3 separate regions of the Homo sapiens genome follow, and regions 2 and 3 are each linked to region 1. The links are contacts of gene promoters, found by promoter capture Hi-C in human tissues and cell types (Jung and others, 2019). All regions are on one chromosome and are shown on one strand. The core of a region is centred on a gene start or on the middle of the fragment in contact, and the rest is flanking DNA. Distances in the headings are between cores, read along the strand shown. Region 1 holds the start of DMRT3 (doublesex and mab-3 related transcription factor 3). Region 2 overlaps SMARCA2 (SWI/SNF related BAF chromatin remodeling complex subunit ATPase 2). Region 3 has its middle 4.8 kb from the start of SMARCA2.

The links. Contacts are between HindIII fragments. The study calls those that stand out against the background at their distance.
Region 2: a fragment that was not itself captured here is called in contact with the fragment with the promoter of DMRT3 in region 1 in 1 of the 25 tissues and cell types used here (dorsolateral prefrontal cortex).
Region 3: a fragment that was not itself captured here is called in contact with the fragment with the promoter of DMRT3 in region 1 in 2 of the 25 tissues and cell types used here (mesendoderm cells and thymus).

The regions. Positions count from the first base shown.
Region 1 is chr9:974,538-978,426 of GRCh38, forward strand. It overlaps DMRT3 (doublesex and mab-3 related transcription factor 3), which reads left to right and starts at 2,118. Exons shown (of 2, transcript NM_021240.4): 1 at 2,118-2,918. The coding sequence starts at 2,465. RefSeq lists enhancers at 1-751, 1,284-1,785, 1,786-2,285. The HindIII fragment of the contact is 20,406 bases long and covers 1-3,889 here.
Region 2 is chr9:2,055,415-2,059,303 of GRCh38, forward strand. SMARCA2 (SWI/SNF related BAF chromatin remodeling complex subunit ATPase 2) reads left to right here. Exons shown (of 34, transcript NM_003070.5): 7 at 1,258-1,431; 8 at 2,877-3,050. Among named protein-coding and RNA genes, the nearest start is that of SMARCA2, 42 kb to the left of the region's middle. The HindIII fragment of the contact is 4,755 bases long and covers 1-3,889 here.
Region 3 is chr9:2,008,562-2,012,450 of GRCh38, forward strand. No RefSeq gene overlaps it. Among named protein-coding and RNA genes, the nearest start is that of SMARCA2, 4.8 kb to the right of the region's middle. The HindIII fragment of the contact is 5,967 bases long and covers 1-3,889 here.

The DNA.
Region 1 (3,889 bases), core at 868-3,367:
GAAAAGGGGTCGCCTTGGTAGTGAAAGTGCCCCCACAAACCTGGTGCAGAGCTCTTCTGCTTTCCTTTTAAAAATTTATTCATACTCAAGTTCTTTATACTTCCTCGTTTCACTGTTTGAAGAAAATCGGAAGAAATTTGGTTTTGAAAAAAGTCGTTGGTCCCCACGTTTCCAAGAGATCCGGAGGTTTCAGCGCAATAGTTTTCAGTTAAGGTGTCATTTGAGGCCCTCTATATCGCAGCACGTTAAATGACTCGCGTCCAGCTCCCCATTTCCTAGCCTCGGGCCTACAGGGCTGGGGGCGACCTCTGCCTCCCGTCCCCAGAGCTTACAAAATTCCTTCCAGTTGTATTTTAGGGCTTGTTTTCCTAGAGAAGGTTGAGACTAGAGGAAGGATTAAAGTGGTGGGGGAAGGGGCAAGACCGAGGGGTCCCTACCCCACGCGGCTTTGGAGGATGGCCTCCCAGGGTTAGCACTCGAATGCTAGAGCTTCTTGTCCACACTCTACCAGGTCAGTGTCCCGCGATCCCCACCTCCCGGACGCGTATGAAACGGGAACAGCTAAGGGCTTCAAGGGAAACACACAACTGGGGTTCGGTTTTCAACCCTCCTCTCCGCAAATCAGCCTTCTGGGCAGAGGGTTGGCTGCTAGAACGCCTGGAGGTGCTTCCCTTGAATTCATGGCAAACACCAGAGGAAAGTTTTCAGGTTGCTTGCTTACTTCCAGGGCAGTACAGAGAAAAGCGGCCTCCCCGAGGGGACAAGGGCCTCTGTGCCCATGAGGGGTCGGACATTGCAGCGGACTTGCCTACGCTCTCATCTAGCATTTGATTCCCCACCAGGAGATGGGCTTGGTGCACGCTCTCAGAAGCGCATCCACCGAAGGCTCTGGAACTGCCCCGCTTCGCATAGAGCTATTGTGCTGCCCTGCAGTGTATCCACTTGTTTTGTTTGTTTGTTTGTTTTTTGGTTTTTGCTTGTTTGCTGATGGGCAGTGGGGAGGTGCGAGGGTGGAGGGCCTTCTTTGTGCATATATAGCGATAGTCTGCACTAGGCCAAGCCCGCTACTCCTGGGAGAATGGGAACACGCAAATAATCTAAACAAAGTTTTCTGCTGTCATCTTGTGAAGGACCCTCTCCCCCAAGACATCTATGACTGGGGTCTATGGGTTAAGGAGGTGAAAAAGTGGCCCCATCCCATATCCATAACTGAATCACAGAATCCGTGGGGATTTGAACTGAGTGGCTGGCGCAAGACCTCCGTTTGCTTCCAGTAGCTGCTGGGAGCGAGGGAAGAGGATATCGGTAACTTTGGGGGCGCCAATGTGGCTTCTGTGTCTGCCCCTTGAAAGTTTATACCCGGCGCTTAACAAATCCTTTACAGGAGCACGTACGTCCCTGACCTTTCAGGATACTGTTTTATATTAAAACATGGACAGGAGGGTAGAAAAGTAAAATTCGCCTGCAAAATGGCTTGTCATCCTTGGGCCGGCAGATCTCCAAAACCATTTTCTTCTAAAGCAACAAAAGAGAAAAAAATACGTTCTAAAAGGAAATTACGAAAAGAGCCTAACTTTCCTAAACCAACATCACTTCACTCCCCTATCCTAAACTCCACCCAGGTCCGGGGTGCAACCGCAACACTCCCGTAGGTTCGAGTTCTCCCGGAGCTGAGCTTCTGCGGCCAAATGTCGGGATAAAAGCGGCCTTGGGCTCGGAAAAACGCGGCCAGATCTGGACTGGAGGGAGGAGAAGAGAGAGAAGCGGAGCGGCCACCTCACTCGCTTACAGGCACCCCCACCCTCACTCCCGCTGGTCCTCCCCTTCTCCGCCCCGCGAGCACCGCCGCGTTCTGGAGCGCCGCAGTCTCCAGCCGCGGGCTGGGGTAGCGGAGAGGGCTTGGAGGAGGGGGCCGCGAGCGCCCCCGCGAGAGTGGCCTGGCTGCAGGTGGCAAGGAAGGTGAAGTGCAGGCACCCGAGGGGCGCAAAGGAGGAGGAAGGCGTGGGGCGGGGAGTGCAAGGAGACAGGGACCCCAGGGGCGGGGGTGGCGGTGGGAAGGAGGAGGGGTTGGGGGAGGGCGGCGGAGGTGTTGGGTCCGGCCGGCTCACGAGGGAGCTGCAGAAGAGCTGGCTCAGACCTTAATCAGAGCTGTCGCCGGCTCCTTGCAGCCGCCGCAGCGCCTCCGCGAAGGAGGACGTGCCGACCCGGCTGCGCGCCCAAGGCAGAGGCCCGCGTCGGCGTTGGCTGGGCGTGAGCTGGGAGGCCGAGCTGTGAGCGCGAAGGGAGCTGGAGAGACGACTGCGGCACCTCCGGCCGCCCCGGAGCACACACGACCACCGGGGCTGCGGGACCAAGGGCCGCGTCGCCCGGAGGCCGCCCCTGAGCGGGCCTCGCAGCCCCGCCGTCCAGCGCTCCCTGGCCCTCTCCCGCAGCCAGGCTGCCAACTCATTCGGGAGCCCGGGGCATGAACGGCTACGGCTCCCCCTACCTGTACATGGGCGGCCCGGTGTCGCAGCCGCCACGGGCGCCCCTGCAGCGCACGCCCAAGTGCGCGCGCTGCCGCAACCATGGCGTCCTGTCCTGGCTCAAGGGCCACAAGCGTTACTGCCGCTTCAAGGACTGCACCTGCGAGAAGTGCATCCTCATCATCGAGCGGCAGCGGGTCATGGCTGCGCAGGTGGCGCTGCGCCGGCAGCAGGCCAACGAGAGCTTGGAGAGCCTCATCCCCGACTCGCTGCGCGCTCTGCCAGGGCCCCCGCCGCCGGGGGACGCCGTCGCCGCCCCGCAGCCGCCGCCAGCCTCTCAGCCGTCGCAGCCGCAGCCGCCGCGCCCTGCTGCCGAGTTGGCCGCGGCCGCCGCGCTGCGTTGGACTGCCGAGCCGCAGCCCGGGGCTCTGCAGGCGCAGCTCGCCAAGCCAGGTAAGAGCGTCTGAGGTGCGGGAGTTTGGCCGGGCGCGGGGGCAACTTCGGAGTGCCAGCTGCAGCTCCACTTGGGAGGACTGGAGGCAAAGTTTTGGGACGTGGGCCTGTCGGGGCTTTCCTTCCTACTCTCCGCCAGGCCGGGGCTTCCTCTCCCGGGAGAAGCCGGCTGAGTCTGGACCCAGCGCGAGTGGCACTCGCGCCCGCAGGGAAGGCGCCTCCGGGCAGCCAAACGACGGGACTGTGCGTCAGTATCGCCAGGTGCCTTCCCAGGTTGAAGGGTTCGGAACGTGTCAGATTGAGCAGGGAGACAACGGAGTTGAGACAGGACAAAATTAAAACCCACGTGCGCACACTCACTACGGTGGGGTCGGATTTTCCTGGCTGCAGGCTTTAGAGGTCCTTGCCATTTGGGGGTTGGAATGGGTAGGTAGGTGTAGGGAAGGAGCCAAGGCCAACACTCGGCTGAGTCGAGCTGGCTGTGCTTCTCGGCCGGCCCGGCCCTGCCCAGGGCCCAGGAAAATTTGAGTGAGGACAAGTATCCAACTCTCAGAACCCTGGCCTTTCTAGCTTTGCTCCGTGGCCTCCAGACTCTTGTAACTGGTGAAATAAGTTCCATTTAGCAATGATAGTAAAAGGGTCCGGAAAGGCTTGTGAGCTGATAGCGGGAAAAGAATCTGATGCGCCCAGAATTCACTCCTTTGCAGAACCTCCTAGATCCTTTAACACTGTTCCCCAGGCTGCCCTCAGCTGTCTTCGTGGTTTAAAGGAATACAAAAAATCTGATCCCCCACCACCCATCCGTTTCCATCCAGGCCTCCTGAGCTTGGCAGGCCTGAGTTGAGTCTCTTAGTCTCTCTCTTCCTGGGGAATTTCTAGCTTGCGGTTCTGCCCAGCTCAAGAGCTCTTTTGATGGCTCTTGGAATTCAGTGGATATGTGTTTGGTGTTTCTCCTTAACTGGGGCAAATGT
Region 2 (3,889 bases), core at 818-3,317, 1.1 Mb after region 1:
AAAAGGTTCAAGTTTGCTAGTCCGCAGATTGCCTCACTAACCCAAAGGGGATAAGGAACGTTTCATTGTTAGTCAGATGGGTTTGTTTTGTTAAAGTCTGGAACATGCGAAATGAATAATTAATGAGTCAAAGTAGTTTGGAAGTATTGACTTGGTTTGTTGGAGGATGTGACTAAAATCACAGGCCACTCCAGTTGCTATTGTGGTAGGAATTTGGGTGTATATTTGCCTTACCGGCTATAATCTCACAGATGGACATTAGTGGTGGGTAGGTGCTACTTGGCTCTTGGTTTGTGAGAGTAGATTTCAGCTTAAATTTTAAAAAGAAAAGGGAAAATTCTCTGAGTTCTGTTTACTTCTTTCTTATTGGTGACCTCATAAGATGAATTAATAAAGTGCTGGATAAAATCTTACTAAATGAATATTAACCAAGTATATTTTCCGGAATATGTTTATGTTCAAATTAGCGTTGCCATGACGGACTCTTATTGATTTCTGATTTTTGTTTGATATTATTTTAAAAATCTGTTATTTATGAAGCTTCCTAATTAAATTAACTGTAACTAATGATATTTCAGATGCAGTGGAATGATTATTTAATGTGTATTCTCCAGTCCCTACCCCCTACCACCACATAACATGCAATACAGATAAAAGTATTACATTTGTGATCTGAAATAAGTTCATGATATAATATAAAATGTAGATCTCTTGGAAAGAAGATCATTATTGGAGTGGGAAGAAGCCAAAACTCATATTTCCCATCCTTTGTATGAGACTATGAATTAACGTTGTTTGAGTACCTGCTGCTACCACACGTGAAAGTAATTCTTTTATTCTTTTTTTGGAGCATCATTAAAATTAATCTTTAAACACAAAGAGAATGTTAACATGACACTTAAAACAAAGCGGAAAATTTAAAAAGCTTATTTAGCTAATTGGTATCATTAGAATAATTAGAGAAAATGAAGTTATTTAAAAGGCAAGACAACATCTTTTCTTTCTTTTACTGTTACAGTACTATAATTGCTTTTGATTTGAATTATTTGGGGAGAAAAATCTTGTACCGTTCTTGAAAATATTGCATACATTTGGCATGATTTTAGTTCCTTCATTTAATACAAACCAAAGGTGATTGAGAAGCTTGTGGAGATTCCCCGCCCCACTCTATTCCATTAAATGCAACCGCGAGAAGGCCAGAGTTCAGGAACCTAGCTTCTGTTAGGGAAGGCTGTCTAACTGCTCTCTTCTTGACAGCTGAGACAGGAGGTGGTGGCCTGCATGCGCAGGGACACGACCCTGGAGACGGCTCTCAACTCCAAAGCATACAAACGGAGCAAGCGCCAGACTCTGAGAGAAGCTCGCATGACCGAGAAGCTGGAGAAGCAGCAGAAGATTGAGCAGGAGAGGAAACGCCGTCAGAAACACCAGGTTCTTAGACCCTGGGCTTTGCTCACCCTCACTTTGGCAGAGCTGTCCAATGAATTCATCAAATGGGGTCAGAATGACTGAAAAATGGACCCTTGTGGGTGGTGGGGACATCACAGAACAGAACGGTTCCTTGACATGTACATAATCCAACCACATCATTTTATAGACAAAGACGCTTAAGCCAGGACGTATAAATGACTGCCCAAGGTCATACAATTGCTTAGCAGCACAATGAGGTTTAGTATTGTCTTAGTTTGTCTGGGCTGCTATAAAAAAATAGCACAAACTGGGTGGTTGATGAGCAACAGAAGTTTATTTTTCACCGTTCTGGAGGCTGGAAGCCTGAGATCAGGGTACTAGCATGGCTGGGCTCTGGTGAGGGTCTTCTTCTGGGTTGCAAACTGTTAACTTCTCCTTGTTTTCTTACGTGGTGGAAGCAGGCCAAGAAAGCTCTCCGGGCTTCCTTTATAAGGGCACTAATCCCATTCGTAAGGGCTCTACCCTCATGACCTTATCACCTCCCGAAGACCCCACCTCCTAATACCATTACATTGGGAGTTAGCATTTCAATATATAAATTTTGGGAGGACACAAACATTCAGTCCATAACAGGTGTCATGTTCATAATCCCATGGGAAGTTTTTGAATGGGTGGGCATAGGTGGATTTCCTAGAGCAAAATTCTGGGAGCAGGAACTTGGAAAAGGAAAGTAGAAAGCAAAAAGTTATTTTCATAACAAATATAATAGTGTCCTGGCTTCTCTGAAGGGCCTAGTTGAATGTTTCACAGAGGCAAATATTAAAAACATTCCTTTCTGGGGGTTTGGAAATATTTTGATGTAGGATTTGATTTCCTGTCATAGTCCTGTAAATTGTATTTGTTTTCCTGTGCTTAATTTAGTGCTTAGCTTAGTTTCCTTTTGAAAAAATGTTGGATTTTAGTGTAAATAGAGTATATATTTAAAAAGTGGATACAAATTCTGCATGGCAATTTTAACTTTGTATAAACTTATTTTGTGTCATACTCTAGGGTAGTTAGAGCAGAAAAACATTACTTTTGTGACATACTTTTTGCTGGAAATACTCATGTTCCTCAGGTTTATTTTGGAGTGAATGAGTGGTTTGCTTTACATTTTATCATTGCCATTTTGTAGGTCTCTTTCAGTCTTCGATCTTTCCATTCTCATGTGGCCACACCCTCAAGGCTAAGGAGGCTTCTCTTGCTAAAGCTTACAACAAAAGGAACCCGAAGAGGCTATCTTTCCCACCAGCCCCATGGCCCACACCTTAACTGCAGAGACACCAGGGCACCTATCCCCAAACAGATTCTAGTCTTCCTATGCTGTTAAACACACACTGAGAGTTTTCTTGGACAACACTGATAGCTCAGAGGACACTGGTCATTGGATTTTAAGTATCCTTTTCTTCCCTTTTTGGATCTTCTAGGAATACCTGAACAGTATTTTGCAACATGCAAAAGATTTTAAGGAATATCATCGGTCTGTGGCCGGAAAGATCCAGAAGCTCTCCAAAGCAGTGGCAACTTGGCATGCCAACACTGAAAGAGAGCAGAAGAAGGAGACAGAGCGGATTGAAAAGGAGAGAATGCGGCGACTGATGGTAAGGAACTCCCTGCAGGAGCCCAGGAAACTACTCAACCCACGTCCGTCTGCAATGAGACCATTAAATATGGTGGTAGTAGAAGGAAAAAATGAAAACTGCTTATCAAAAATTTTAGTAAATTTCTTTGAACCTTAGGGAGATGAAGTAAAAACTTTTTCTCTTTCCTGGAGAATGCATGCCAAAAATCTAGGGGGATGACTGATGCGTATAGTATTTCTGTGTCCTGGGGTGGCATTGCGCGGTACACATTACAGCTTCTCTCATAAAAGCAGGTACTGTATTTTGCATGAGTTTGATAACCAGATCTGGAAGGATGGCAAATGCAGTTCTTTTAAAAATATGGCCTCTTTGAGATGAATGACCACGTTTTTTGGAATGAATAACACATTAAGTCGTGTCTTCAAATCTAAGAAGGTCTGTGTTTTGAAGCCTCTGGTGCTTATCTTTCTTTTTTAATGGCAGAAATTATTCTCTAACAGTGTAATAAGTGATTTTTAAGTTGATTTTGAAATGTTGCCTTTTTTGTGATAGCCTTGTTATGGTCAAAGGCTATTCATGGATTATTACATTTGCACTGTTATTTTTTAATGGGCATATAAGCACAGAAGAGATAGGTTTATATCATTGGCCTGAGTATTTGTTTTTATTGACCATTTATTTTTGGAATTGGACCTCAGAGCACACTGTGGATTTTAGAAAAGCGTGTGTGTGTGTGATGTTATAATTATAGGAGACCTGCAGATTCTATCTAGGACGTAATGCCTGCATAGATGAAGATAAGGTCATTAGTCTCAGACCATAATTATGTTCCTGGAAAATTCTAAGTGACACTGTCT
Region 3 (3,889 bases), core at 617-3,116, 1.0 Mb after region 1:
AACACAAAAAATTCTTTCTAGTCTAGTCAACAATATATAATGCAGTATTATTGAGGAAATGCTTTAGAATAAACTTATCCTCAGAAAGCCCATCTCTGGAGATAAATGGAGTCCTTCTTTGGGCAGTTAGAATGCATTTGGTTTACCTAAAGAAACACTGAATTAGGATTTTAAAGGGTAGATATGTTTGGATATACAAAATGTGCACACTTAGTTTTATAAAAGTTATGGAGAGGATTAATTTCTTACCAGAAAATTATCCTAGGTTATTGAGGCTGCTGATACCTCTGGGTCAATGACTCTTACCCCTTTCCGGGAAGATCCCCTTGAGAATCTGATGAAATGTACAGACTCTGTCTGCAGAAAGCATACATTAACACGATCCTAGGATTTTGAACACAGTTTCAGGGGATTCTTAGATGTTCCAAAGATCATTTGTATTCCACCCCCATCAACCCTCCATCACGGATTAAGAACCCTGTACTGATGACAAATTTTGGGGCAGTTTTTACATGAGCAACACAGATTACTCTTGAGTGTGGAGTTCTACCAAGCTTAGTTAAAAATTCTGACTTCATCATTTAGTCATCTCCAAGTTGTTTAATCACATACCCCTTACAGTTAAAAAGCAAAAAAAAAAAAAAAAAAAAAAAAAAAAAAGATAGAGCATGATTTATGTATATTTACTCATAACACATGTATTCATTATTAATATATTATGTGCATTATAAAACATACACAAAATAAAAATTGTAAAAGAATAAGATGAATAGAAAATTTTCAATTATCTTGCTAAGCATGCTATCATACAATCAATAGTATCTCAAGGAAACATACATGCTTAGAACAGAATTAATCATTTATGAAAGTTAATATAAATCCAAATTTCAAATAGTCCTGGAAAATTATGAATGTTTTTGACCTATTTCTTTTTTTTCTCTTCTTTTTTTTTGGGGGGAGATGGAGATTTACTCTTGTTGCCCAGGCTGGAGTGCAATGGCGTGATCTTGGCTCACCGCATCCTCTGCCTCTCAGGCTCAAGCGATTCTCCTGCCTCAGCCTCCCGAGTAGCTGGAATTACAGACGTGTGTCACCACGCCCGGCTGATTTTGTATTTTTGGTAGAGACAGGGTTTCACCGTATTGCCCAGGCTGATCTCGAACTCCTTACCTCAGGTAATCCGCCCGCCTCGGCCTCCCAAAGTGCTGGGATTACAGGCGTGAGCCACAGCGCCCGGCCTGACCTATTTCTTGTTAGATCTCATTAGGCTGTCATTGTTTTAGTCCTCAATTTGGCTGGAAAAGAGTTCTCAGAGGTTAAACTGGCAAATTTGATCCTGATTTTCACCTGTGCTTATATTATTGGTATTATCTCAATTTTCTATTTCCTCACAGAAATTGTTTTTTAAGCCACGTGCTCCCCAAATAAGAGAGTTGATTGATATAGGCCGGGCACGGTGGCTCACGCCTGTAATCCCAGCACTTTGAGAGGCTGAGGTGGGCGGATCACGAGGTCAGGAGATCGAGACCAACCTGGCTAACACGGTGAAACCCCGTCTCTACTAAAAATACAAAAAATTAGCCGGGCGTGGTGGCGGGCGCCTGTAGTCCCAGGTACTCGGGAGGCTGAGGCGGGAGAATGGCGTGAACCCGGGAGGCGGAGCTTGCAGTGAGCAGAGATCAAGCCACTGCACTCCAGCCTGGGCAACAGAGCGAGATCTGTCTCAAAAAACAAAAACAAAAACAAAGACAAACAAAAAAAAAAACTAGATGATATAATCTTAAGAATTTATTTAACGTGGAACCTGTAAAATTAAGGCAATATCAATGCTTAAAAAGATGTCAATGACAATGAAAGAACCAGAAGGTGCCAGTATCACCCCTCTGCCTGTGGCGCTTTTTGTTTTTCAGTACTCTTCAGCTACACTACATGACACATGACCAGTTTACTTAGGGACCATGTAAAACACTCTAGGGTCAAGGGTCAATGAGTATAATAAATATACATAAAGCTCTTTTTTGTCCTTGCATCATTACTTTTTTCAATTATTAAAGAAAAAAGAAACAGATTTTCTTCTGTTCTTCCTATTTCACAGTAAATTGTCTTGGTCACTCCGCTTTGGAGATCCCTGCCTTAGGCAAATTACTTCCTGATTCTCAGTTTCCTCACCTGTAAAATGGAGATGAAGTCATAGATCTCGTAGGGTTAAATGGATTAAACAACATATGTACAAGTCTCTGTACAACTTCAGGCATGTAATTTAAAAGAGAAATAAAAAGGAGCTGCAATTATAATTGTGACTACTGTATTAAACAATTGCCATGTATGCATTCATGTTACTCCTAGCCTAATTTAAAAACAAACAAAACCTCTTGTCGGTGCTCTTTCTATGACTACAAGAGCTGTAGCTTCTCCTCATCTTCCCACATCCCCCCTCCCCAAAACAAAACAAAACAAAACCAAACAAAAACCAAACACATTTTCCAAGCGTTTTCAAGCCTTGGCAGATACTGTAAAGATTCGGAACACTTACTGATGTTGTTCATTAACATGATAATTACTAATAGTGAAGACCGGCTAAATTTTCTATGTCAGGTAATTTTATTATCTATCTCTCATCCTTTCCTTCAACAAAGTTTTTTTTTCTTTTCTTTTTTTAAATACAATGTGCTAGGTATCAGGGTAATTGCTGAGGTTTCAAAGATGAATCGAAACACCCTCCAGGCACTAACCATCTAGAGGACAACACCAAACAAATAATTGCATCAAAGTGATAAGTGCTATAATGGAGGCGCACACCGGTTGCTATGGGAGCAGAGTAGGACAAGCAGCTTCCTCTGCCTGGGGAGAACAGGGAAGACCACTAGAAGGATTCTGGGTCATAGTTGAGTTTTGAGGATGTGGGTTGAGGATCTGCACTTCAGTCAGAGGGGAGAATGTCCAATGTGGTCACTTAGGAACCAAACGGTAGACAGGTTTTCCCTGAGCCCAGGCATTTTTGGCGGCAGGGTCAACAACGCTGGTAGAGACCTGTCTATGCACAGCCTAGGATAACATGCCAAGAAGTTTGAAACTTACCGTAAAATGGATTGGGAATAGACAAAGGATTTTAAGCTAAAGAACGATATAATCATAAAGAGAATTGGGGGTGGTATTTTGGGGGAATGATTGTGAAAAACATAATTTATTGAACATGCCCATTAGAAAAAAAAGAGAGAGCGGGGTGTGGTGACTCACCCCTGTAATCCTAGCACTTTGGGAGGCAGAGGCGGGTGGATCACTTGAGTTCAGGAGTTCCAGATCAGCCTGGCCAACATGGTGAAACCCTGTCTCTACAAAAAATACAAAAATTAGCTGGATATGGTGGCGGGCACCTGTAATCCCAGCTAATCGAGAAGCTGAGGTTCGAGAATCCCTTGAACCTGGGAGGCGGCGGTTGCAGTGAGCCAAGATCCCGCCACTGCACTCCAGCCTGGGCAATAGAGCGAGACTCTGACTCAAAAAGGAAAAAAAGAAAAAAGGAGAGAGAGGAGTGTTTATTTCTGTAATAAATTTACTTGTTAATTCTAAACTATTCTTTAAATTAAATGTCAGCTGATTCAATTTGTCAAATCTTGGTTTCCATTACTGAAGATGAAATACTCACTGCCTAAACGGTCTTACCTGCTCGTGTTTGAAGCTAGGCAACATTTCAGGCAGCATTAACAGTTTGTCTGTTGGGACTAGAAGCTTCCTAACGTTGTGCATGGAATTTTTCTTTATGAGGGTGTTGTATCCAGATACCAAGTTTTAAACCCAGTATCTACTCTATACAGAATGTAACCAAAGCAGACTTACATAACAAGTGAATGTGGCCATACAGACATGAAAAAGTGACTTCTATCTTTTG